6 separate regions of the Homo sapiens genome follow, and regions 2, 3, 4, 5 and 6 are each linked to region 1. Evidence: promoter capture Hi-C in 16 types of primary human blood cells and fetal thymus (Javierre and others, 2016). All regions are on one chromosome and are shown on one strand. Each heading gives the region's core, a stretch centred on a gene start or on the middle of the fragment in contact. The rest is flanking DNA. Distances are from core to core; before and after follow the strand shown. Region 1 holds the start of CREBBP (CREB binding lysine acetyltransferase). Region 2 holds the start of GLIS2 (GLIS family zinc finger 2). Region 3 holds the start of TFAP4 (transcription factor AP-4). Region 4 overlaps CLUAP1 (clusterin associated protein 1). Region 5 holds the start of SRL (sarcalumenin). Region 6 overlaps SRL (sarcalumenin).

Region 1 (3,346 bases), core at 535-3,034:
AAAGTTTCCAGGGAAGCCGTTTAATGAAAGGAAACAAACAAAAAGATGATTTATTCAGTATCCTGCTCCATTTTTTTGAAAAATTGGAATTCCTACATTCCTTAATTCTTTGTACATCTACACTGTGAAAGCAACACAAACTCAAATGGAGATTGCAGCCCAAATGAACTTAAACCTGCTGTTTAACTTTCTTTTGAAGTTATACATGGAAATGAAACACACCACAGCAACTTTCATGACATCTTGCTAACGAAGTTTGGGTTTTGAAAAATGGAATGACTAGTTGACTAAAAACACACACGCGCGCACACACACACACACACACACACACACAAAACAAGGAGTTTTGAAAATAAGCACTAAGCATCTTTCCAAGGAACTCACTCATTCCAAGAAACTTCGGTTCTAACTCGCAAGCTGGCGGCTGCTGTGAGTGTCCTCTGAATGCAGCCTGGTCAATGTGTCGCCAATCCAGAAAACACACTGCCCTACCTTTGGCCGCGATCTTGCTTTCTCTAAGCATCAAAGGTACCCTCCGCTGTCATTCCTCTGGACGGCCACGCGTGTGGACACGGCCGCGGATGGATGCGTAGGACATTACCAAACAAACCCACACGCTGCACTTTACTTCTTCCCTCCTGGAGTGCCACTAGGGTCCCCGCGAGGAGGGCTGATCGGGTGCGGGGAGGCCGAGTGCACCGGGCGTGTGCTGACCAACTCGGGCCCAGTGACAGTCCTGCGACGAACTTCCACCCTCCCGCGCGGGGCGAGGGGAACGGGCTGCGGGGCCTGCTCCGAGCTCCCGGCTCGATCGGTATCCGCGACCACGACCCCCGGACGCTCTCTTTCAGGTGGGGGTGACAGCGCGCCCCGGGCCCCCGCCGCCCCGGACCCCCTCCTCACCTGTGCTGTCATTCGCCGAGAAACCGGGCGAGCTGAGTTTGGCTCTTTTGGGGTTGGGCGGTCCGTCCAGCAAGTTCTCAGCCATTTTCACCTGCTCGCGAAAACAGCCCCGGGCACGGGCGGCCGGGCCGGCGAGGGCCCGGACGGGGGTCGGGGGCCCTGCCGGCTGCGAGGGAGAGGAGCGAGCGCGGGCCGCGAGCGGGCGGGCGGGCGCCGAGGGAGAGGGAGGGCGCAGGCCGGGTGGGGGAGGCGGCGGCCAAATCTCAGCCACAGCAACAGCGCCCCGCAGCGCTCACCGCCCGCCCCCGGCCGCCGCCGCCGCCGCCGGCCGCGGCCCCCTCATCCCCTGCCCGCCTCCCGAGCGCGACACTCCGCGGTGGGGGCGCCCCGGCGGCCCGGCCGCCCCCCCGGGCCCGGCTGGCAGCGACGGCGCCCGGCCGGGCGGCTCAGGCAGTCCCCGAGAACATGGTGCCGCCGCCGCCGCCGCCTCGCTCCCCCCCCGCGCCCCACTTAATGAATTCGCTCGCGGCCCGACGACGAGGGGGCTCCGGGCTCCGCTCCCGGCCCGCGGCCCGCCGCCGCCGCCGCCGTGAGGAAAAACAATGCGCCGAGCGGGGTCGCCGCCGCCGCCGCGGCCCCCCCACCCCCCGTTCCGCCGCCGCCGCCGCCGCTGCCGCCGCCGCCGCCGCCGGGCTCCGGGAGGCCGAGCCGAGAGGCGAGCGGGGCCGCCGGGGCGGGCGCCGAGGGCCGGGCGGAGCGGGCCGGCCGGGCGGAGCGGGGTGCGCGGGCGGTTGTGGGGCCCGGGACCGGCGGGGCCGAGTAGATCGCGCTCGAAGCCCCGGTCGGGTCCGCGACAAGATGGCGGCTGTTGATTCCTCAATTAAAAAAAAAAGAAAGTTTTTTTTCTTCTCTTTCCAGAGCCTGAACGGGGAGGGGGTGGGGGCGGGGCACGCCGGTGCGTCACCCCCCCGCGGCGTCACCACGCACGGCCCCCGCCCCGCCCCCTCCACCTGCGCCGGCCGTGGCGGAAAGAGCCGAGCGTGCTCGGGCCGAAGGGCTGAAGGCGCGGCCGCCAAGCGTAGGGAAGCTGGCGGCCCGGCGCGGGCCAGGCCTGCGGGGCGCCTGGGCTCCGGGCTGAGCCACAGCTTTTGTTCTGATGGCGACCAGGCGTAGAGGGCCGGGGCTCCGGGCCCCAGCGGGCTCCGGGAGCGGCGGCCTGGCCGCGGGCTGGGCTCTCGGGCGCGGATTCGACGCCAGCCCGGGCCCGCCCGTCCCGCTGGGGCGGCGCTGCGTGTTCCCAGCTCCTCGCGTCCCCTTCCCCAGACCCTCCTAGGTGGCGTCGGTCGGGAACGGTCGGGGCGACCCCAGCCCAGGCCGCGCCACTAGCCTTCGCCGCCGGCCAGGGAAGTGGAATGGCCTCTGCAGGTTACAGACCGCCCTTGGGTCCTGCCGACGAGGTGGGCGGATGGGGAAACTGAGGCGGGGGGCGAGCAACTGCTCCAAAGTGGTCGAGGCAGGAAGTGGCAGGGCCGGGATTCGGGTCCCGCCCTACCTCGTGACACTAGGGAGTGAGGGGGCCTCACGCCTGTTCGCATCCCAAGGCGGCAGGGCAGACACCCTCACCTGTGAGAGCGGGGTGGCGAGGGCCGGCCTGGGCGGAGAAGGGCCCGCGCATCGGGGCTTAAGCCTGGACGCTCAGGCCGCACTCCCCGCCCCAGGCAACTTGCCTGGCGCCTCGCAGGTGCCCCAGACAGGGGTGCGGGCCTGGGGAGTCCCCCACGCGAGACCACAGCCCGCGGGACACTTCTACGAATACCCGAGGTGTTCCCATCCCAGTTAGTTATCTGCCCCTCCAAACTTGCCCGGCTTCCTCATAAAGGTATCAGCAGCTCCACTGTTTCCTAAGCCAGAAACCCGTGAGTCAGCGCGGACTCCTCCCTCTCACCCGCCACGCGCCCCTCTACCCACGGTCTTTACCTGGGAGACTGCTCCTCCCGCACTGTCCCGGTGGCTATGGTGGCAGCTACTCACTTAAGTGTTCTTTGCTCTCCACGTTGCTCCCCACGCAGCACCAGAGTTAACATCCCGAAAAGAGAGGGAGAAAATCTGTTTAAAACAACTCCCTGGCCAGGCGCGGTGGCAGATCACCTGAGGTCAGGAGTTCAAGACCAGCCTGGCCAACATGGTGAAACCCCATCTCTACCAAAAATACAAACATTAGCTGGGCGTGGCGGCGTGCGCCTGTAATCCCAGCTACTCGGGAGGCTGAGATGCGAGAATCACTTGAACTGGGGAGGCCAGTAAGCCGGGATCTCGCCATTGCACTCCATCCTGGGCGACAAGAGTGAAACTCCGTCTCAAAAACAAAACAAAACAAAACAAAATCCCAGACATAGAAAAAGAAAACACTACATAGTCTTTCTTTAAAAAAGAACACGTATGA
Region 2 (3,346 bases), core at 294-2,793, 440 kb after region 1:
CCCATGAGCACCTACTATGTGTGCATTCTCTTAAAATGCAATGAGCATCGATTGTGTGTCCACATAACCCATGAGCACCTGCTATGTGTCCATCTGGGCACCAGCCCAGGAGCACCTACTATGTGCCAAGCCTTGTGCCTGCCATGGATGCCTTGTGATCAAGAGCCACGTGCTTCGGGCTCTGGCGGGGACCGCAGCATCAAATGCACGAATGAAGACGGACTTAAAACCAGCGTCAGATGCCTCACCTCTAGGGGATGCTGATTCTGGGATGCCTTTTTCGTCTCCTAGGCTCCTCAAGGCCAACTGCGCTGGGAAGAGGGGGTGTCCAACAGCAGGAGGGCTGTTTTTTTGAACTACAATTTGCCAGCATACAGCAGAGCAGCAAGAAGATAACAGGGCGGGGGGCACGGGATTAGCCCAAACAAAACACACTCAAGAACGCGAGTCTGTGGTTCAACACGAGGCAGAAAACAGCTGGGCCGGGTGCGGGGCTTCTCCCTCGCGTGTATCCGCTCACTGCACTCGCTGCCCTGGCCGCGGGCGCCGCGCAGGGTGCTGATGTCCAGGAGGGATCTAGACCTCCCGCGGCGCTCGGGCTAGTGGACGCAGGTGGTCCCAAATGCTGGGACCAAGCTAGGAACCAAGCGGAAGCTCGGATTGCTCGGCATCGGGCCTCGTCGTTATTCTACCGTGAGGGAAACTGAGACCGAGGGCACGGCAGGGAGTCGCCCGCCGTCTCACCAGCGTGAGGGGTTGCGCCGGGCCCCGAAAACTGGTTTGCGCCGCCCGGCATCGGGATCCGGGACCTCTGCCCGCCGGGCGCTGCCTGCGCGTTCCTGGAACTGGGCTGGGCGGAGAAATCAGGGCCCGCAGAGAGGCATTCCTGCCGCCTTCCCCGCCGCCCGGGGCCGCAGGGGGGCCTGGCCAAGGTGACCCCGCGGGAGGAGGCGAGGGGTCCCCGCCCGCTCCGCCGCCGCGACCTCCTCCATCTTCCCGGTCTGCGGGGCTTTTCCTCTGGGCCCGCGCGCCCGGCCCCCTCCTCGGGCTTCCCCGAGGGCGGGACGTCTCGGGCTCCCCCGCCCCCCCAGGCCACCTCCCGGCCGTGTCCTAGCGCTGCCCTCGGGCCGGGGGCGGGGCCGCGGGGGGGGGGTGGCGTGAGGATGGGGCCGAGGAGGACGCGCGCGGCTCGGCGCCCCACTTCCCTCCCTCACCCCTCCCTCCCGGTGCCCGCTCCCCGCGGCCGCGCCGCCCTCCCTTCCCCCTCCCTCGGCCCAGCGCCGGCTCCCGCCGCCCCCTCCCCCGACGCGCACGCCCCGCCTGGCAGCTGGCGCCCCGGGCCTGGGGCCGCAGCGGTGAGAGGGGTTTTGCTGGGAGGGAGGGAGCGAGCGAGCGAGGGGAGGGGTGGAGGCCGCCCCCCGCGCCCCTCCTCCTCGCCCTCCTCCGCGGCCGGCGGGCCCTCCTCCCGCCGCCTCCCTCCTCCCTCCTCCCGCCCGCCCGCCCTCCCTCTAAGACATCCCCGCACGGCCCGGCCGCCGCGGCCACCTTCCCTGCCCGAGCTGCAGATGTGGCGGAGCGGCCGGGCGCCGGGCGGCCGTGCCAGGGGAGCCCGCGCCCCGTGAGGCCTCGCGCCCCGGCCCCCGCCCGTCCCGGCCCCTCCCCCGCTCGGCTCCCCGCGCCCCCCGACCGCCGGAGCCCGCAGCCCGGATCCCGACCGCCCCCGCCGCTGAGGTAGGAAGCCCCCCGGGCGTCGCGCCGTGGGGACCGGGCCGGGGCGGGGGGGGGGGGGCCCGCCTGTCGCGCCGGGGCTGCGGGGCCCGAGGGTCTCCTCCCCCGCTCGCGTCCGCGCCCCGGGCCATTGTGAGCCCTCGCCGAGGCCCCCGCGTTCGCTCGCTCGCTGGCTCGCGCGCTCCCTCCCTCGCCGGCTCCCCGGCCGGGTCCCTCGAGCTCTCGGTCTTTCTTCTCCCTCCTTCCTTCCCTCCGTCTGGAGGCCGGGCCGAGCAGCGCCCGGGCCCGGGGCGGGCGCAAACTTCAGCTGGGAAGTTGGGCGGCCGCGGTGGGGGGCGTGCGGCGAGGTGAGAGGGGGGTACCCGGAGCCTGGGCATGAAGTTGTCCGGGGCAGCCGCCCCTCCTCTCGGCCGCGCCGGGGCTGCTGCTAGGAAGGGCTTTGGAAGGTGCCTCCTCCCTTGGCCGGGAGAGTCTCCCTCCTGCTGCCCCTCGCAAGCCCGGGTCCTTCCTTGGACCTCGGGAAGGGGCGTCCCTGGGGGGTCAGGACTGGGAGTTTGGGACAAGTCAGGCACTTGTTACTCCCCTGCGGTCCGGGTGGACGCAGGCGACCGGCCTGGCAGGGAGGAGATGGCAAGGGGTCCATACTCGCCGGAGGGCGGGTCTGGAGCGGGTGGAGGAGGGGGCGAGGCAGGTGCATCCCGAGGGAGGAGAAGCACGCACAGCTTCCCCGCTGGCCCCCTGGGATGGGGCTGGAATCCAGGCTGGCACCTGGAGGCCTTGGCATGCTGCCCTGCCCAGCAGGGTACTCGGGCCACAGCAGGGCAGCGTGCAGCCTGTCTGCCTGTCCAGGAGGGCCCGCCCAGCCTGGCCAGAGGGTGGCCGGGAAGCAATGGTTTCAAGGAGTTGCCCAGCCCTGCCCTGGGGCCTGGGAAGCTGGAAGGGATGCTGGGAGGGGCCCTGGGCCCCCAGCCATCACAGCCCAGGATCTTGGCTCTGGAGGGAACGCTTGACACTGAGGGGGCAGCCAGGCCGGCTGGGGACCTGGCCAAGGCCTGGGCTTGGTCTGGGCCATGGAAAGGGCCTGGGCCATGGTTCTTGGAGGCTGGCACCCTGGGTAGTAGGCCGCCATCCTGCGTGTCCTGGCATCCTGGAGGGAAGGTGGGGCCAGCCTGCGGCTGGGGAGGAAGCCCAGAGACACTGCGCTTCGGAGGGCCTTCCAGCCCCCGGGCTCAGGGGAGGGGAAACTGGCCCCTTGGGTCACCCCTCCCCAAGCCCCATTCTGGTGCCACAGTGCCACAGCTGTCCAGGCCCAGCCCACACACCCATCCCGGGTGACCTCGGACCTCCCCCTCTGCTTCTCCTTCTCCCCAGAGCCCAGGCTGGGCCTCCTAGCTGGCCTGGCCTGCACAGGGGGAGGGGCTGCACCTGGGAGGCCCCTCCCAGGACACCCTTTGCCAAGCTCCAGCCTGGCCCATTTCACTGCCCACCTCCAGCTCAACTTGGCCCTGTCTGCAGCCAGCCAAGCAGGAGACAGTGCCAGGGACTTGGGATGGTGTTTTGGGGGGTGTGCGGACCCCTTGGAAGCAACCCTGTTTTTCTTAGCCTTTCCTCCTCCCCC
Region 3 (3,346 bases), core at 510-3,009, 390 kb after region 1:
CTGCAGGCGCTAGCGTCCACCAGCCTGTGCCACACCGGCGGGCTCCTCCTCCCTCAATCCCCGCCCAGACTGCCTCGGGCGGCAGAGCACGTGGCTCCAGCCCTGGGGAGCCATTTCGCTCCTGGAGCAGCGCGGCAGGAAAGGGGCCACAGGTCCCAAACTTGCGCACGCCGTAGAACGCCCACCTCCCCCACACCACGCCCAGGGGGTCGTTCAAAATGCAGATGTCCGGGCCCCAGCGATCAGAGTTCCAGGCATGTGCATTTTAAGAAGTGTGCGGGGTGGTTTGGCTGTGTGTGGTCCTTGAGTCCATCACCCTTTGGGTTTAGAGCAACCTAGGACCAAAGCTTGCAAAGTGGCTTCTGGGGAGGCCTGCGGACCTCGGGCCACCCACCCGGCTGGGGGACCCGACGCTTTCGGTTTACGGCAGGGGGGAGGGGCGTTGGATGGGAAAGTTTGCAGAGGAAACCCACGTGCGGCGGGAAGCTGCCCTGCGAGGCTAGGGGCGGCCTCAGGTGTCCCTTCCCCAAATGGCCTGCCCACCTGGCCTGCCTTGCCCATCGTGCCCGCGGGGGCCGAGCTTTGTGCAGGGAAAGCGTGGCCCAGGAGCGCCTACAAATCCCACAATGCTGCACCAGCAGGACACGGAGAACTACAGCTCCCGCGAGGCCGCGCGCAGAGGTCCGCCTACTCCAAGAGGGCTGCAGAGTCACGTCCAGGCCTCGCTAGTAAACAGCGCCCGGGCGCGGGCGGGCGAGCGAGCGGCAGCCAACGTGCCCCGGGCCGCGGCGCCCCTACCGGCCGCGCGGGCCCCTCGGGGTCCGCCCACCCCCAACACCCACACGCGAGCACGCCCCCGACCCCGCTGCAGCCCCGCTCTGCAAACACGCACAGTGCCCGGCTCCCCGCCCCCACCCCGCGCCGGGAGCCGCGGCATGGCTGCATTGTAGCCGCCCTAGCTACACCCCCACGCGCGCCCCGGGCCCCCAGACCCCCTTGGATGGGGACGACCTCAGATCCCGAGGAAGGAAGGAGAGGAAGGAAGCCGCCGCAGGAGGGGGAAAGAGGAAGCGCGGGGGGGAAGGCCACCAGCACCAAGCATGGCCGGGACTGCTGCAGAACCACGTGGGTCTGTTTGCAATTTACAAACGTCGCGACTCGCCCGCCTGCAGCGGACAAAAGTGGCCGGGGCCGCTTGGGGCCCCCATGCTCCAAGGAAGGAGGGTCCCGGGGCGGCGCGGACCCGGCGTGTGGGGCTGCAGCCGTCCCGGCAGCTAAGAAAGGCTAGCGGGGTCGGCGGCGCGGGCCATGCGTGCGCACACGCGCGCCCGCCCGGGCGGGCTGGCCGGGGGCTGCAGTGGTAGGAAGGGGGTGGGGGGAGGAGGAGTACACACCTACAGAGCCCTCCTATCACTTCTTTCTCTGTTTTCCTGAAATGTTGCAAAGAGGGCACCTTCTGAGTGGGCACCATGAAATACTCCATAGCGATCGGCCCCCCTCCTCTGCACGAGCCAGGTCCCGCGATCAGCCGGAGAATGCAAGATGGAAATCCGAATCAAAGGGCAGCGCCGGACGGAGGTGCAGAATCGGCCGGTCCCAGATGCTGGCGGCGGCGGCGGCGGCGAGGGGAGGGAGGCGGGCGGGAGGGGCGGGAGGGAGGTCTCTCCGGCCTGCCTCCCCGGGCGTGTGTATGTGTGTGTGTGTGTGTGTGTGTGTGTGTGTGTGTGTGTGTGTGTGTGTTTGCAGCTGATCAGATGTCTGTTTCAAGGCGGGAAACAGCTGGTGAAAACTCAGCACTCCCCCGGCCTCCTTCCGCGGAGTAAGGAATTGCATGTAAACAAAGGACTATTTGCAGCGCCCCCCGGGCGGCGCGAGGCCGGGGCGAGAGGGGCGCGGGCCCCCGGGGACCGGCTGCAACCGGGGTCTGCAGGCCTCTCGCGGGGCGCAGGGGGCCGGGGGCCGCGGGCGGGCTTGCGGGGCGCGGCGTGAATGGAGCGAGCTGCGGCCGAGCTACATGCGCCACTATGGGTGATGAGGTCCATCAGCTGACAGGTTGGCAAGCGTTGCAAAAAAAAAAAAAAAAAGGCCAGCCACCGCGCAGGGAGCCCAGCCCGTGCAGCCCGGAGTCCAGCAGCGACTGGCCCAGAGCAGGGTCCGCGCGCTCGGCCGGCCCGCAGGGAGGAGGGGGCGCGGCTGGGTCGGGCGTGCAGCGGCAGCAAGGAAGGCGGCCTGGGGTTCGCGCTTGGGGCTTCTGCTTTTTCACCATTGCAGCTGCACGGAGCGGAGCCTCTCCGGTGTGCTCCCTTCGAGCCGAGCCCAGGGCCCCCTGGAAACTTGCGTCACAGCCACCGCTTCCCACATGTAACTCGGGGCTGACTTCGGAGGCCGGCCAGCTTCCTCCCTCCCGCCTTGCTTAGCTGGCCGCACGGCCGGGACTCCGGATCCTGGGAATCTTGGACCCGGCGACGGGACGGCAAAGGGCGCCTCGGATGCTGGGGCCGCCCTAGGAAGCCGGGGGCCCCGGCAGGGAGGGGAGGGTGGAGGCGGGCCTGAACGGCAGCGGCCCCCGGGCGCAGGCTGCCAGCGCTGCGGGGAGGTCTGCTGGTTGCTGCCGGGTCCCCTGCTATTCCCCCAGACCCGCACTGTTCCCTCCGCGGGCTGAAGGCTGCAGCTTCCCATTCATAACAAAGCCCGTGTGGGACTTGCCCCTCCGCCAGGATGCGCTCCCCAAGAGGGGGTGACGACTTGGGGCAGGGACGGGGACCCTGGCGGCGAGCTTCCGTCCTCCGCTCGCACGCCGCACCTTCCGGCCCCAGGCCCTCCCCTGGCTCCTGGAGGGTTGGCTCCTGGCTCAGGAAGCCCACGCCTGCCTTGGAATGTCCTGGATCCTGCCCACCGCCTTCCAGGTTCCGCCTAAATCGCGCCTCCTAATTTGACTTATTCCTACTAGTAACAATAGTTACTGTTATTATTGGGAAATATTGTTATTAGATGTTGCCAGCACCCGGTGGATGCCGAGCAGTTTTGCTTACACGCTCTCCAATCCTTGAAGCAACCTGTTAGGCAGTTTCTCTAAGGAGAGATCCCAGACCACTTGACCAAAAAAAAGTCTCTGGAAGGCTTACTATGTTTCTACTTAAAAAAAAAAAAAAAAAAAAAAAACTTTCGGCTGGGCGCGTTGGCTCACGCCTGTAATCTCAGCACTTTGGGAGGCTGAGGCGGGTGGATCACCTGAGGTCGGGAGTTCGAGACCAGCCTGACCAACATGGAGAAACCCCGTCTCTACTAAAAATGCAAAATTAGCCGGGGGCCTGGTGGCACATGCCTGTAATCTCAGCTACTCGGG
Region 4 (3,346 bases), core at 261-2,760, 360 kb before region 1:
TATTTCAGAAACCAGGGAAAATTGCTTGTGTTTACACAGCTGTTTTGCATTGTGGATCTTTCTTGTTTGAGGAACAGATATGTTTAAGGTGGGATAAATTTACTAGGTTTTAATCTGACTTTGGTTCGAGGAAACAGTTGCCATTAACTGAAGTTGTTTAGAAAGGAGACCCACCTTTCTTCCTGTGAGGGTGAACTCGCATTTCTCCTGGGGGCTCTAAGGCACTTGCAGCAAATCGATGATAAGGGTCTGATTATTTTCATGAAAGTATCTTAGAAGTGGCTAGTGTACTTAGACCAAAAAAATTAGACCATAAACGCATTGTCAGTAACAGTGGCTGGTTCCAAAACACACCATGCCTGAGAGTTGTGGAGAGTGTCTGGGCTTCGTAGGCCATTTCTCTGTGGAGCCCATAGCTTTTCAGAGACTTGCAGGAAAACAGAGTAACCCCTTCGTGGGATGCTACACATAGGCAAAGAGCTGGAGGGGAAGCCCCACCTTGGCCACCAGGAACTTAATGCAGGGCTGGAAAGCCAGAACCCTGGGGGGCAGTTCCACGCTCAGCTGGGTGGCAGTCCAGATTCCTCATAAAGAGATTGGAGCCTGAACCCCAGGCATGTGATCCAGCCAGCCACCGGACAAGACGCATGTGAAGACGGCGCACTACCAGTGACTCTACCTGCTTCAAATGAACCTTCTCTTAGGATAGGGAGACTTGTGTCACCGTCAGTGGGCCCGTGTCCCCCTTCCCTTCTTTACTCAGCCTCTGTTGCCCAAGGGCCTCTGTCCAACTGTTGCCCTGGACCCCTTCCAGAGCTGGTGCACACCAGTGTGGCCATTGCCACTGTGGGAACTGCTTTCGTACTGTCTTCAGAGTGGTTTCTCCTCGTTTTTAGTCTGTAGTCAAGCTTCTGTTGCCAGGGAGAGGGAAGAGGACCTTCTCTCAATCCCAGCAGGCAGTGGGTTAGGGCTGGGACCAGCTGTTTCTTTCTCTCCCCTCCTAGTAGAGCAGTACTTGGTGTGTGTGGGTATTCTGTAAGTCGGGTGTTTGTAACTAGGGGCATGGCCCGAATGATAAAAAGGCAGACTGACCGTCCAGAGTGATGTGCACCTTGTTCTAACCGAGTGAGCCAGAGAAAAGACTGCAGGCCTCTCCACCTTGACCAGGACACTCTTCTTTGCATCTTCACTTCTTTCCCTGGGTAGAAATGCCTGCTTTTCATGGGGAAAAAAAAAGAGATACCTTTTTCTGGACCTGTGTGACATTCTCCCTGGAACTAGTGGGTTAAGTGAGTCATTGCTTGGGGAAGTGTCTATTTGTTTGCTTTTGTGTTTGTTGAGCATAATGTTGCTATGCCTGAAGAGTTGCAAAATTCTTCTAAGAATTAGGATGGCTGTTTTTATTGCCACCTTGTCTCATTATTTCCCATTAAATATAGACACAGGTTCAGAAGACTAAAGACCTGCTCAATAATGTGGCCTCTGATGAAGCTAATTTAGAAGCCAAAATCGAAAAGAGAAAATTAGAACTGGAAAGAAATCGGAAGCGACTAGAGACTCTGCAGAGTGTCAGGTAGATATGAACACTTGGAGAATGAGTAGAAAGATGTCCTGGAAAGTTCAAACAAACTGGGCGTGGTGGCTCATGTCTGAAATCTCAGCTACTCATGAAGCTGGGGCGGGGGGTTCTCTTGAGCCCAGGAGTTTGAGACCAGCCTGGGCAGCATAATGAAACCCCATCTCTAAAAATTTTTAAAAATTACCTCAGTATGGTGATACACACCTGTAGTCCCAGCTACTTGGGAGGCTGAGGCGGGAGGATTGCTTGAGCCCAGGAGGTTGAGGCTGCAGTGAGCTATGGTTGCATCACTGCACTCCAGCCTGAGCCACAGAACAAGGCCGAGTAACAGAACAAGGCCCTGACTCTAAAAGAAAAAAAAAGTTAGAACAAAGACTTAAGAGAATAGAATGTGATCTTAACTCTTCTCAAGCAATGAAAAAAAGCCTTACATAAGGGTATCTTCACCTCAAATGTACATGTGTTGCCTGTCATAACAAGCAGATGGCTAAACTCATTCTCTTTACTGCTTGCGGTATGTCTGGAAAACTGCTTAAAGCTTGAACTGCCCTTTAAGCTTTTATAGCTTCTTGGAACTCAAGGCAGAGTAAGTGAATCCAGACGGGGAAATCCAGACGTGGTCTCCTAAGATCTTGCCATAAATTAGGTAGAAACAGAAACATACTCCTGCCTGTTTGTTGGCATAGATTTTAGACTTTATTTAAACCTTGATCATTCCTCACCAGTCAGTAATTCATCTTTCTTCCTACGTTACCTCATTGGAAATATATTTCCCAGGAATACCGATGGAGAATAGTGGTGCCGGCTCTCTCTCTCTTCTCTTCCTCGTTCTGTGCCTCTTTCCCTCCCCCATGCTTCTGCTCTTTCTCCCTTTTCATTCACCCTTTATTTTTCTTTCTTCTTGGCTCCCTCCTCTTCCCAGCTGCCTACTCTGCTCGGATGTTTTGCCTTTTTGGATGTTGGTGGCTGGCTACACCCTGCCCACTGTCCCGAGGTCTGTGGGGAGGCAGCACCTGGAGGCAGCGACAGCAACCACAGGGAGCGCCCTGGCTCCTCCCTGCCCAGCGCAAGGCCAAGGCCCTTCCCCTCCTGAAACTGGCTCTTTACCTCTGGAGCCTCAGAGAGGGAAAAAAAAAAAAACAGAAGTCATTGCCGCCATATAGATTGATCTCCTTGACACATTCCACTTTTAAAGCATCAATTCATTTTTGTTAAGCTCCAAATCATTTTAACAGAAAAGTCTCTTTGTTTTGCTCTAGTTCAAAAGATTATAATTATTTCTGAGTTTATCTGCTTATATTTTTAAAAGAGTAGAATTTTCCCTTTAAGGTCAATAATAAGAAAAAAGAAAAAGTTCAGCAAACCAGTATAGATTTTTATGGTTTTTTTTGTTTTTGTTTTTTTTTTTTGAGTTGGAGTTTCGCTCTTGTTGCCGAGGCTGGAGTGCAATGGCGCGATCCCGGCTCACTGCAAACTCTGCCTCCCGGATTCAAGCGATTCTCCTGCCTCAGCCTCTCAAGTAGCTGGGATTACAGGCGGCCGCCACCACGCCCAGCTAATTTTTGTATTTTTAGTAGAGACGGAGTTTCACCATGTTGGCCAGGCTGGTCTTGAACTCCTGACCTTGTGATCCACCTGCCTTGGCCTCCCAAAGTGCTGGGATTACAGGCATGAGTCATCATCACGCCTGGCCTTTTTAAAAAATTTTTTATCGTTTAAAAACCTCTTTAGACTGGGCACAGTGATTCACGTCTATAATCCCAGCAC
Region 5 (3,346 bases), core at 354-2,853, 360 kb after region 1:
GCAGGAGCAGGGACAGAGGGAAGCTTTACGCCGGAGGTTGGGCCAGGGGCAGACGCACGCTGTGGGACCCAGGAAGGAAAGACAGCAGAGAGAAGGGACCTTTGCACAAGCACCTGCCTGCGTCCTTTCCCCACGACAAGAGCCCCCAGCGAGGCCTGCAGAACATTCCAGATGACCAGTTCCCTCGGTGGGAGGAAAGATAAAGGATGTCCCTAAAAGGCCAAAAATTCCTGGGGCCCAGTGTGTAGCAGCCCAGCAGCTGGGGCTGGGGGGCAGCACAGGAGCGGCCACGAAGGGAGAGGGTGGCAGCGGCTTGGGGCTCCGGATCCAATTACGCGGCTGTTTCCATACTTAGCCGCCTGACAGCCGCCTGGAATACTCAGCACTCAAGCCGCTGCAGCCCTGCAGAGCCCAAATTAACTCAAGGACAGACAAGGGCAGGGCCCAGCAGCACATGCAGTGGCTGGAGCCCCCCACCTTACATCTTGAGTCCCCGAGAAATAGCTTTTGTTCCCACCCACTGCCTGCTCTCCCTGCAGGGACTGTGCCCCTGCAACCCCCTATTCAACCTCAAAGACCTGAGAGGCTGGACTCTGGGCCTCTCCAGTCCCAGGTACGGACCTAGGCTCAGAGCCCAGCTTGGGGGAAGACTGCCGAGTCATGAAAAGACTCGGTGGGCAGTCCGGATCCTAGGGGGATCCCCGGAGCACCTCCCTAAAAGCATTCCCTCGGGGAACCTGGCCTCAGGAACCTTAGGAACAAGAGAGGTGGCAAAACAATCTGGCATCTCCTCCATAGCCTATAGATAACCCCCATGCTGCAACCCAAGCCACCACCTCTGCTACCCAAAGTGCTGAGATGTCAAAGGGAAGCCTCAGCACACAGAGCCAAGCCCCTTTTCTGATGGAAGCCCCCACCCCGAGCAGAGGCTCTACTCCAGAACGGGCCCCGTTCCTCTTCTGAATTGCATCCAATGCTGTTTCCAGCCCAACCGCCAACTCTATTTCCGATCTTATCCCAAACCAATTCCAATTCTATCTCACTGCTCCCAAAACGGTCCCCACCTTTGCCCACTGTATCCCCTTCTGTCCACGCAAACCCAGTTCTCTTACCCGAGTGGGGCCTCCGCCTTATATCCCACCAGGTGGGAGGGTCACCTCAACGACCTCCAGCTCCCAGACTGTGCTATTTTGTCCGTCTCAGAGGCTCCCCCGTCTCGACTTTGAGGGCCCTCTTTCCCACATCTACTGGCCAGACTCCTCTCTGACCCTGGCTCACAGCTCAGCTCTGTTTGCCGTTCCCACTTCCTCTGGCCTTCCTGAGGGCCCCGCAACTGTGCTGCTATTCTCCAGCACCCAGCTCTTTCTCTGAGGCCCCAGGCCCGGGGAAAAGAGAAGGGTAAGAAGACACCAGCCAAGAGCCAGGGTTTGCCATCAGCCCCGACCCCCTACCCAACCCATGGTAGACAGAAAACCTTGGAGGAAGCGTGGGGGACCAGTCTGGGCTGGGTCATGCTGGGAGGGGCCCTACCTGCTTGTCCTGAGAACAGGAGCGAGGCCAGGAGGCAGCCGAGCAGGACCAGCGCCCTCATGGTGACTGCCAAGAGAGCCCAGCTGCTCCTCGCCTCTATTTATACGGCCGGCCGTGGCAGCAGGCGGTGGAGGGGGGAGAGGGGTCACACAGTCACCAGGGCAACTAGGAGGGTGTGATGGGGAAGAAGCCCGGACCCCAGAAGGCTGTGCAGAGGCTCAGGCTGCGCCACTGCTGTCCCAGCTGCCAGGCCCCAGAAGGCAGGGCCGTGGCTGGATTCTCTTCCCCCGAACCCCTGCAGCCCTGGGATCACATGACATGGGTCACAGGGCGTGGGTGACAGGCATAAAATGGAGCATCCCTTGGGCTCAGGCGGTGGAGCTGGGAAGCTGAGTCTTCCCAGAACTTGCAATAACTTGACCTGAAGTCTCGGCAGGTTAAGGACCTTGACACGCCTGCACTGGAAGGAGGAAGTTGTAAGGCCACGCAAAAGAAATCCTATTTAACAGCCACTGATCCACATGCTAGAGAGTGGTCAGCTACGGCAAACCCGCAACATGTGACCTCTGAGGTCCAAGGCTGCAGCCCTGGAACAACCTTCCCAGCCTCTGGAAGAGAGAGAGCACAGACCAGAGGGAGAGGGGCACACTGAGACACAAGCTGAGGCTACGGTGTAAACTGGAGGATGGAGCAACAGATATCCATTTCCAATGGCCCAGGGGTTCCAGAACATTCAGTCACCTCTGCAAAGTGCTTTTTTGTTTATTTGTTTTTGATAGAGGATCTCGCTCTGTCACCCAGGCTGGACTGCAGTGGCACAATCATCACTCACTGCACTCGACCTCCCAGGCTCAATCAATCCTCCCAACTCAGCCTCCCAAGTAGCTAGGACAGTAGTGCCACCATGCTGTACTAATTTTTTAAAATTTTTTGTAGATGGCCCAGAGAGCCAGTTGTAAGAAGCCAAGGGAAAGCAGACACTTGCTTGTCTGGTCGGGGTACAGTGTCACTGTGTGGGGAAGAGGTAGAAGCCAGCCTTGGAGGAAAGGAACTAAATCAGGGCCAGGCACAGTGGCTCACACCTGTAATCCCAGCACTTTGGGAGGCCGAGGCGGGTGGATCACCTGAGGTCAGGAGATTGAGACCAGCCTGGCCAACATGGTGAAACCCCATCTCCACTAAAAATACAAAAATTACTGGGTGTGGTGGCGGGTGCCTATAATCCCAGCTCCTCAGGAGGCTGAGGCAGGAGAATCACTTGATCCCAGGAGGCGAAGGTTGCCATGAGCCAAGATTGCACCACTGACTCTAGCCTGGGCAACAGAGCGAGACTCTGTCTCAAAAAAAAAAAAAAAAAAAAAAAGAATTAGGCATCTGGTAGGCACTTGACTTTTTTTTTTTTTTTAATCTTTTTTAAGAGACAGGGTCTCTGTCACCCTGGCTGGAGTAGTGACACGATCATAGCTCACTGCAGCCTTGAACTCCTGGGCTCAAGCCACCCTCTCACCTCAACCTCCGAGGGGCTGGGAATACAGGTGTGCACCACATCTGGCTAATTTTTTTGTTTTTTGCAAACATGGTCTTCCTATGTCACTCGGGCTGGTCTCCAACTCCTGGGCTCAAGCAATCTTCCTGTCTCGACCTCCCAAAGCACTACGATTACAGGCATGAGCTACTGCTTTTTCAAAGACAAGGTCTTGGGACTTTTCCTCTTGGAAGTCCCCTCTCTCTCACTAAGGAGCTGTTTTTCTTTCTCTTTCTTTTGCCTGTTAAACCTCTGCTCCTAAACTCCTCATGTGTGTCTGTGTCCTAAATT
Region 6 (3,346 bases), core at 518-3,017, 340 kb after region 1:
AAATTTTAAAATTAGCTTGGCATGGTAGCGTGCGCCTGTGGTCCCAGCTACTGGGGAGGCTGTGGTTGACGGACCTCTTGAGCCTAGGAGTTTGAAGTTGCAATAAGCTTTGATAACACCACTATACTCCAGCCTAGGCAACAGAGGGAGACCCTGTCTCAAAAAAAAAAAGGATTAAGACTTCAGCACAATTGTTTTTAACCCATAGAGTCCTGAGAATTGACAGAATAACTTCACTCCTCACCCCACCTCCAATTCCTGGGAATTCTTGGTTTGGGAGGTAGAAAGAAATTACCAGAAATCCCACAACCATCATATATATACATGCTTGTCACTGATGCCTGGAGGAGTCATCAGTATAAATGACTATTCACTTTTATTTTATTTTATTTTTATTTTATGTATTTATTTATTTTTTGAGACAGCATCTCTGTCACTCAGGCTGGAGTACAGTGGTACAATCTCAGCTCACTGCAACCTCTGCCTCCTAGATTCAAGCGATTCTCCTGCCTCAGCCTCCTGAGTAGCCGGGACCACAAGTGCACGCAACCACACTCGGCTAATTTTTGTATTTTTTGTAGAGATGGGGTTTCACCACGTTTGCCAGGCTGGTCTCAAACTCTGGACCTCAAGTGATCCACCCGCCTCAAGTTCCCAAAGTGCTGGGATTATAGGCATGAGCCACGATGCCCAGCCACTATTCACTTTAAAAAGACAAATACCTCAGAAAGAGCAAAACATTATATCCTAACCCCTCAGTATGAGTCAATCACTAGCAGGGATACTCTATAGAGCACTCAGTTTTTCCAGAGATCAGCCGTGCCTGCAGTGAACAGAAATCCTTGCAGAAGGCCTTGGGCCTGCTGCCTCCCTTCAGAGGGGCCGAGCTGGGGAGGAAAGGGAAAGGAAGGGGAAAGGGATGCAGGCTGGGTTCTGAGACAGACCAAGGCAGGTGGCTGGCTTCCCCCCACATCCCAGTCCGAAGAAATCCAATCTCCCTGGGATCTGTGGGGATGAGGTGCTGGTCTAACTTTTGGGCCCCAGACAGGAAAAGACTTACTGGAAGCCAAGGGAGCGTGGCTCCCGCAGGTCTCAGTCTAACAGCTATCCTGGGTTAAAGTCAGAGCCATCTCCAGCTTGGCAGGTGAAGGGGTCAAGGAATCTGGGCCCACCCCATCCCCAATCCAGGGAAGCTGGAGGGAATCTTCTTGAGAAACGTGGGAGCTTGGGAAATGGGTGTGACACCTTCCCTAGCCTGAGCCAGGCCCACGGCTATGCCTTTTCTTTCTTCCTGGGGCTGAGGCTCCAGCCTCCTAGATAGTGGCTGGTCTCTCTGAATGCACCTGGAAGTCAGGAAAGCTGGGTTCTGCCCCTTACTCTTTTTCTTTTTTTACAGACCCTGTCCCTTAGAGACAGGGTCTTGCTCTGTCACCTGGACTGGAGTGCAGCAGTGTGACGAAAGCTCACTGCAGCCTTCCTACTTGTCACACTTCAGCCTCCAGAGTAGCTGGGACTACAGGCACGCGCCACCATGCCTGGCTAATTGTTTTATTTTTTGTAAAGACAGGGTCTCACTATGTTGCCCAGGCTGGTCTCAAACTTCTGGGCTCAAGCGATCCTCCAGCCTTAGCGTCTCAAAGTGCTGGGATTACAGGCGTGAGCCACTGGCCCCTCCCCTGCTGTCTTACCACTGGCGCCCCCACCCCCCGCTGTCTTACTACCCAGCGAAGTAACCTTGGGTTGCTCCTTACTCCCTCTGCACACAACTTTATTCGCCCATAAAATGTAGATAACAATACCTGCTTTGCCAGCCCCATCAGAGCGTTTTAAACATCAGGTGGTGCTCAGAAGCATTTCAATAAATGTCAGCTATGAGCATCATTCTTTCCTAGAAGAGCAAAGACACCAGGCCAAATCCCAAATTTGCTGAGTGGGCCACAGCAGAGCCAGCTTCGGACAGGAGCCGAGCCAGCTGGCCCTTCACGCTGTTCCTTTAGCCCTCCGGGTCTGGGGGCTCAGTCAGGGGGCCCGGAGCCATCCATCCTTCTGCCAGGGACTCCTCCTCCCTGGCTGCCAGCCAGAGGCAGCTCAGGCGAGGAGCTGCAGGGTGCCTGGGGGTGAGCCCTGCGCTCTTGGTGAAGTTCTGGCTGGTCTGGGAACGGAGCAGGCTGAGCTGTCAACACTCCCAGGGGCCAGGAGCTCGTTCTGCTGATCCCAAAGTTAACCCCTGCAGTCCCTGACTCCAGCCTCAGTCAGCCCTGATTCACCAGCAACATCTGAGGCCACATGTGGCCTCCCCTTTCCCCACCACGTCCCATCCCTTCTGTCCAGTCACTGAAGTGAGGTGACCCCGCACTTCACCCCAACGCAAACGCGCACTCAGGAAGTTTAAACAGACCCATTCTAAGGGCCACGTCTTTCTGAGAATGGGAGGGAAGCCCTTTCCGAAGGCAGAGGACCGGTAAGGGCCCTTCAAAGCTCTCTGAAACAGCAACACGGTCGGAGGGAGGTCATTAGCAGTGCTGTGTGGCTTCCTCATCCTCATGGTAAGTGAGCACTGGGAGTAAGACAATCAGCCCTTCAGAAACCACTCGGGCCTGGAGAACGCAGCCAGGGCTGAGCCACAGAGATGGGGCAGGAGCAGTTCTGGCCTCCAATATACAGCGGCGCTTTGCTCCTCTCGCACAAGTGAAATCACAGCTGATGTCTCCATGGCTTTGAAGAGCCTCACACACAGGCCCGCTGGACCACGTGGGCCCTGCTCCTCCATCACCAGCAGCTCTGTCCCCATTAGCAGAGCAGGTGAGAGGAAATGCCACACCCAGAGTGCCAGACAACAGGGCGCACAGCCCCCAACCTGCTCAGCCGGGGAGGTGTCCTCAGCCATCTCTCCTACAACTGCCAGGAAGACCACAGAAGCCGGCGGTTCCCAAGTCTACGCAGAGTTAGTTAAGGAGGAAGGCCAGGCCTCTGGCAGAGCTAGGGCAGCAAGAATACACAAATGTCCTGCCCATGTGCCCCAGCTCATAGACCTCTCTGGAAAAACTTCTGCCTAGACACCAAAAGGCCAGATTTTTCAACCTTCTTTCCCAGAGGGTGTCACCGAATCCATGACAGATGGGCCCCACCGCCAGGTCCTGGCATTCATGGCCCCAGGTCTCATCTTATTTATCCTTATGGTTATTTTTGCATTCAAGGCTCTAGAATCAGAAAGAAACTTAGAAAGTAACTAGCCCAACTCTTTAGCCCAACTCTTTCTTTTCACAGAGGAGGAAACCAATGCCCAGAGAGGAAAAAGGAGCTTGCCAGAAGTCGCCAGTGCACTGGGACAAAGCTAGAACTAGAG

What was found. Contacts are between HindIII fragments. The CHiCAGO score rates a contact against its expected background, and 5 or more counts as called.
Region 2: the fragment with the promoter of GLIS2 here is called in contact with the fragment with the promoter of CREBBP in region 1 in 5 of 17 cell types (M1 macrophages, monocytes, erythroblasts and 2 more); the score reaches 6.4 in M1 macrophages.
Region 3: a contact is called between the fragment with the promoter of TFAP4 here and the fragment with the promoter of CREBBP in region 1, in 4 of 17 cell types (naive CD8 T cells, naive B cells, total B cells and 1 more). The highest score is 7.6, in naive CD8 T cells.
Region 4: a contact is called between a fragment that was not itself captured here and the fragment with the promoter of CREBBP in region 1, in 1 of 17 cell types (endothelial precursors). The highest score is 5.5, in endothelial precursors.
Region 5: a contact is called between the fragment with the promoter of SRL here and the fragment with the promoter of CREBBP in region 1, in 13 of 17 cell types (naive CD4 T cells, naive B cells, naive CD8 T cells and 10 more). The highest score is 8.1, in naive CD4 T cells.
Region 6: a fragment that was not itself captured here is called in contact with the fragment with the promoter of CREBBP in region 1 in 1 of 17 cell types (endothelial precursors); the score reaches 5.5 in endothelial precursors.

What each region holds. Positions count from the first base shown.
Region 1 is chr16:3,878,929-3,882,274 of GRCh38, forward strand. CREBBP (CREB binding lysine acetyltransferase) reads right to left here and starts at 1,785. Exons shown (of 31, transcript NM_004380.3): 1 at 904-1,785. The coding sequence starts at 988. RefSeq lists silencers at 774-823, 904-953, 994-1,303, 1,641-1,690, 1,711-2,260 and an enhancer at 1,464-2,040. The HindIII fragment of the contact is 11,013 bases long and covers 1-3,346 here.
Region 2 is chr16:4,314,524-4,317,869 of GRCh38, forward strand. It overlaps GLIS2 (GLIS family zinc finger 2), which reads left to right and starts at 1,544. Exons shown (of 7, transcript NM_032575.3): 1 at 1,544-1,731. RefSeq lists enhancers at 1-171, 172-684, 2,806-3,346 and a silencer at 85-379. The HindIII fragment of the contact is 6,668 bases long and covers 1-3,346 here.
Region 3 is chr16:4,271,264-4,274,609 of GRCh38, forward strand. It overlaps TFAP4 (transcription factor AP-4), which reads right to left and starts at 1,760. Exons shown (of 7, transcript NM_003223.3): 1 at 1,395-1,760. The coding sequence starts at 1,483. RefSeq lists enhancers at 1-953, 495-684, 1,585-1,634, 1,931-2,906 and silencers at 765-924, 1,285-1,334, 2,055-2,704. The HindIII fragment of the contact is 8,835 bases long and covers 346-3,346 here.
Region 4 is chr16:3,518,464-3,521,809 of GRCh38, forward strand. It overlaps CLUAP1 (clusterin associated protein 1), which reads left to right. Exons shown (of 12, transcript NM_015041.3): 7 at 1,440-1,573. Among named protein-coding and RNA genes, the nearest start is that of CLUAP1, 19 kb to the left of the region's middle. The HindIII fragment of the contact is 1,209 bases long and covers 907-2,115 here.
Region 5 is chr16:4,240,477-4,243,822 of GRCh38, forward strand. It overlaps SRL (sarcalumenin), which reads right to left and starts at 1,604. Exons shown (of 6, transcript NM_001098814.2): 1 at 1,531-1,604. The coding sequence starts at 1,591. The HindIII fragment of the contact is 10,843 bases long and covers 22-3,346 here.
Region 6 is chr16:4,215,876-4,219,221 of GRCh38, forward strand. All of the region lies in intron 1 of SRL (sarcalumenin), which reads right to left. Among named protein-coding and RNA genes, the nearest start is that of SRL, 25 kb to the right of the region's middle. The HindIII fragment of the contact is 3,324 bases long and covers 106-3,346 here.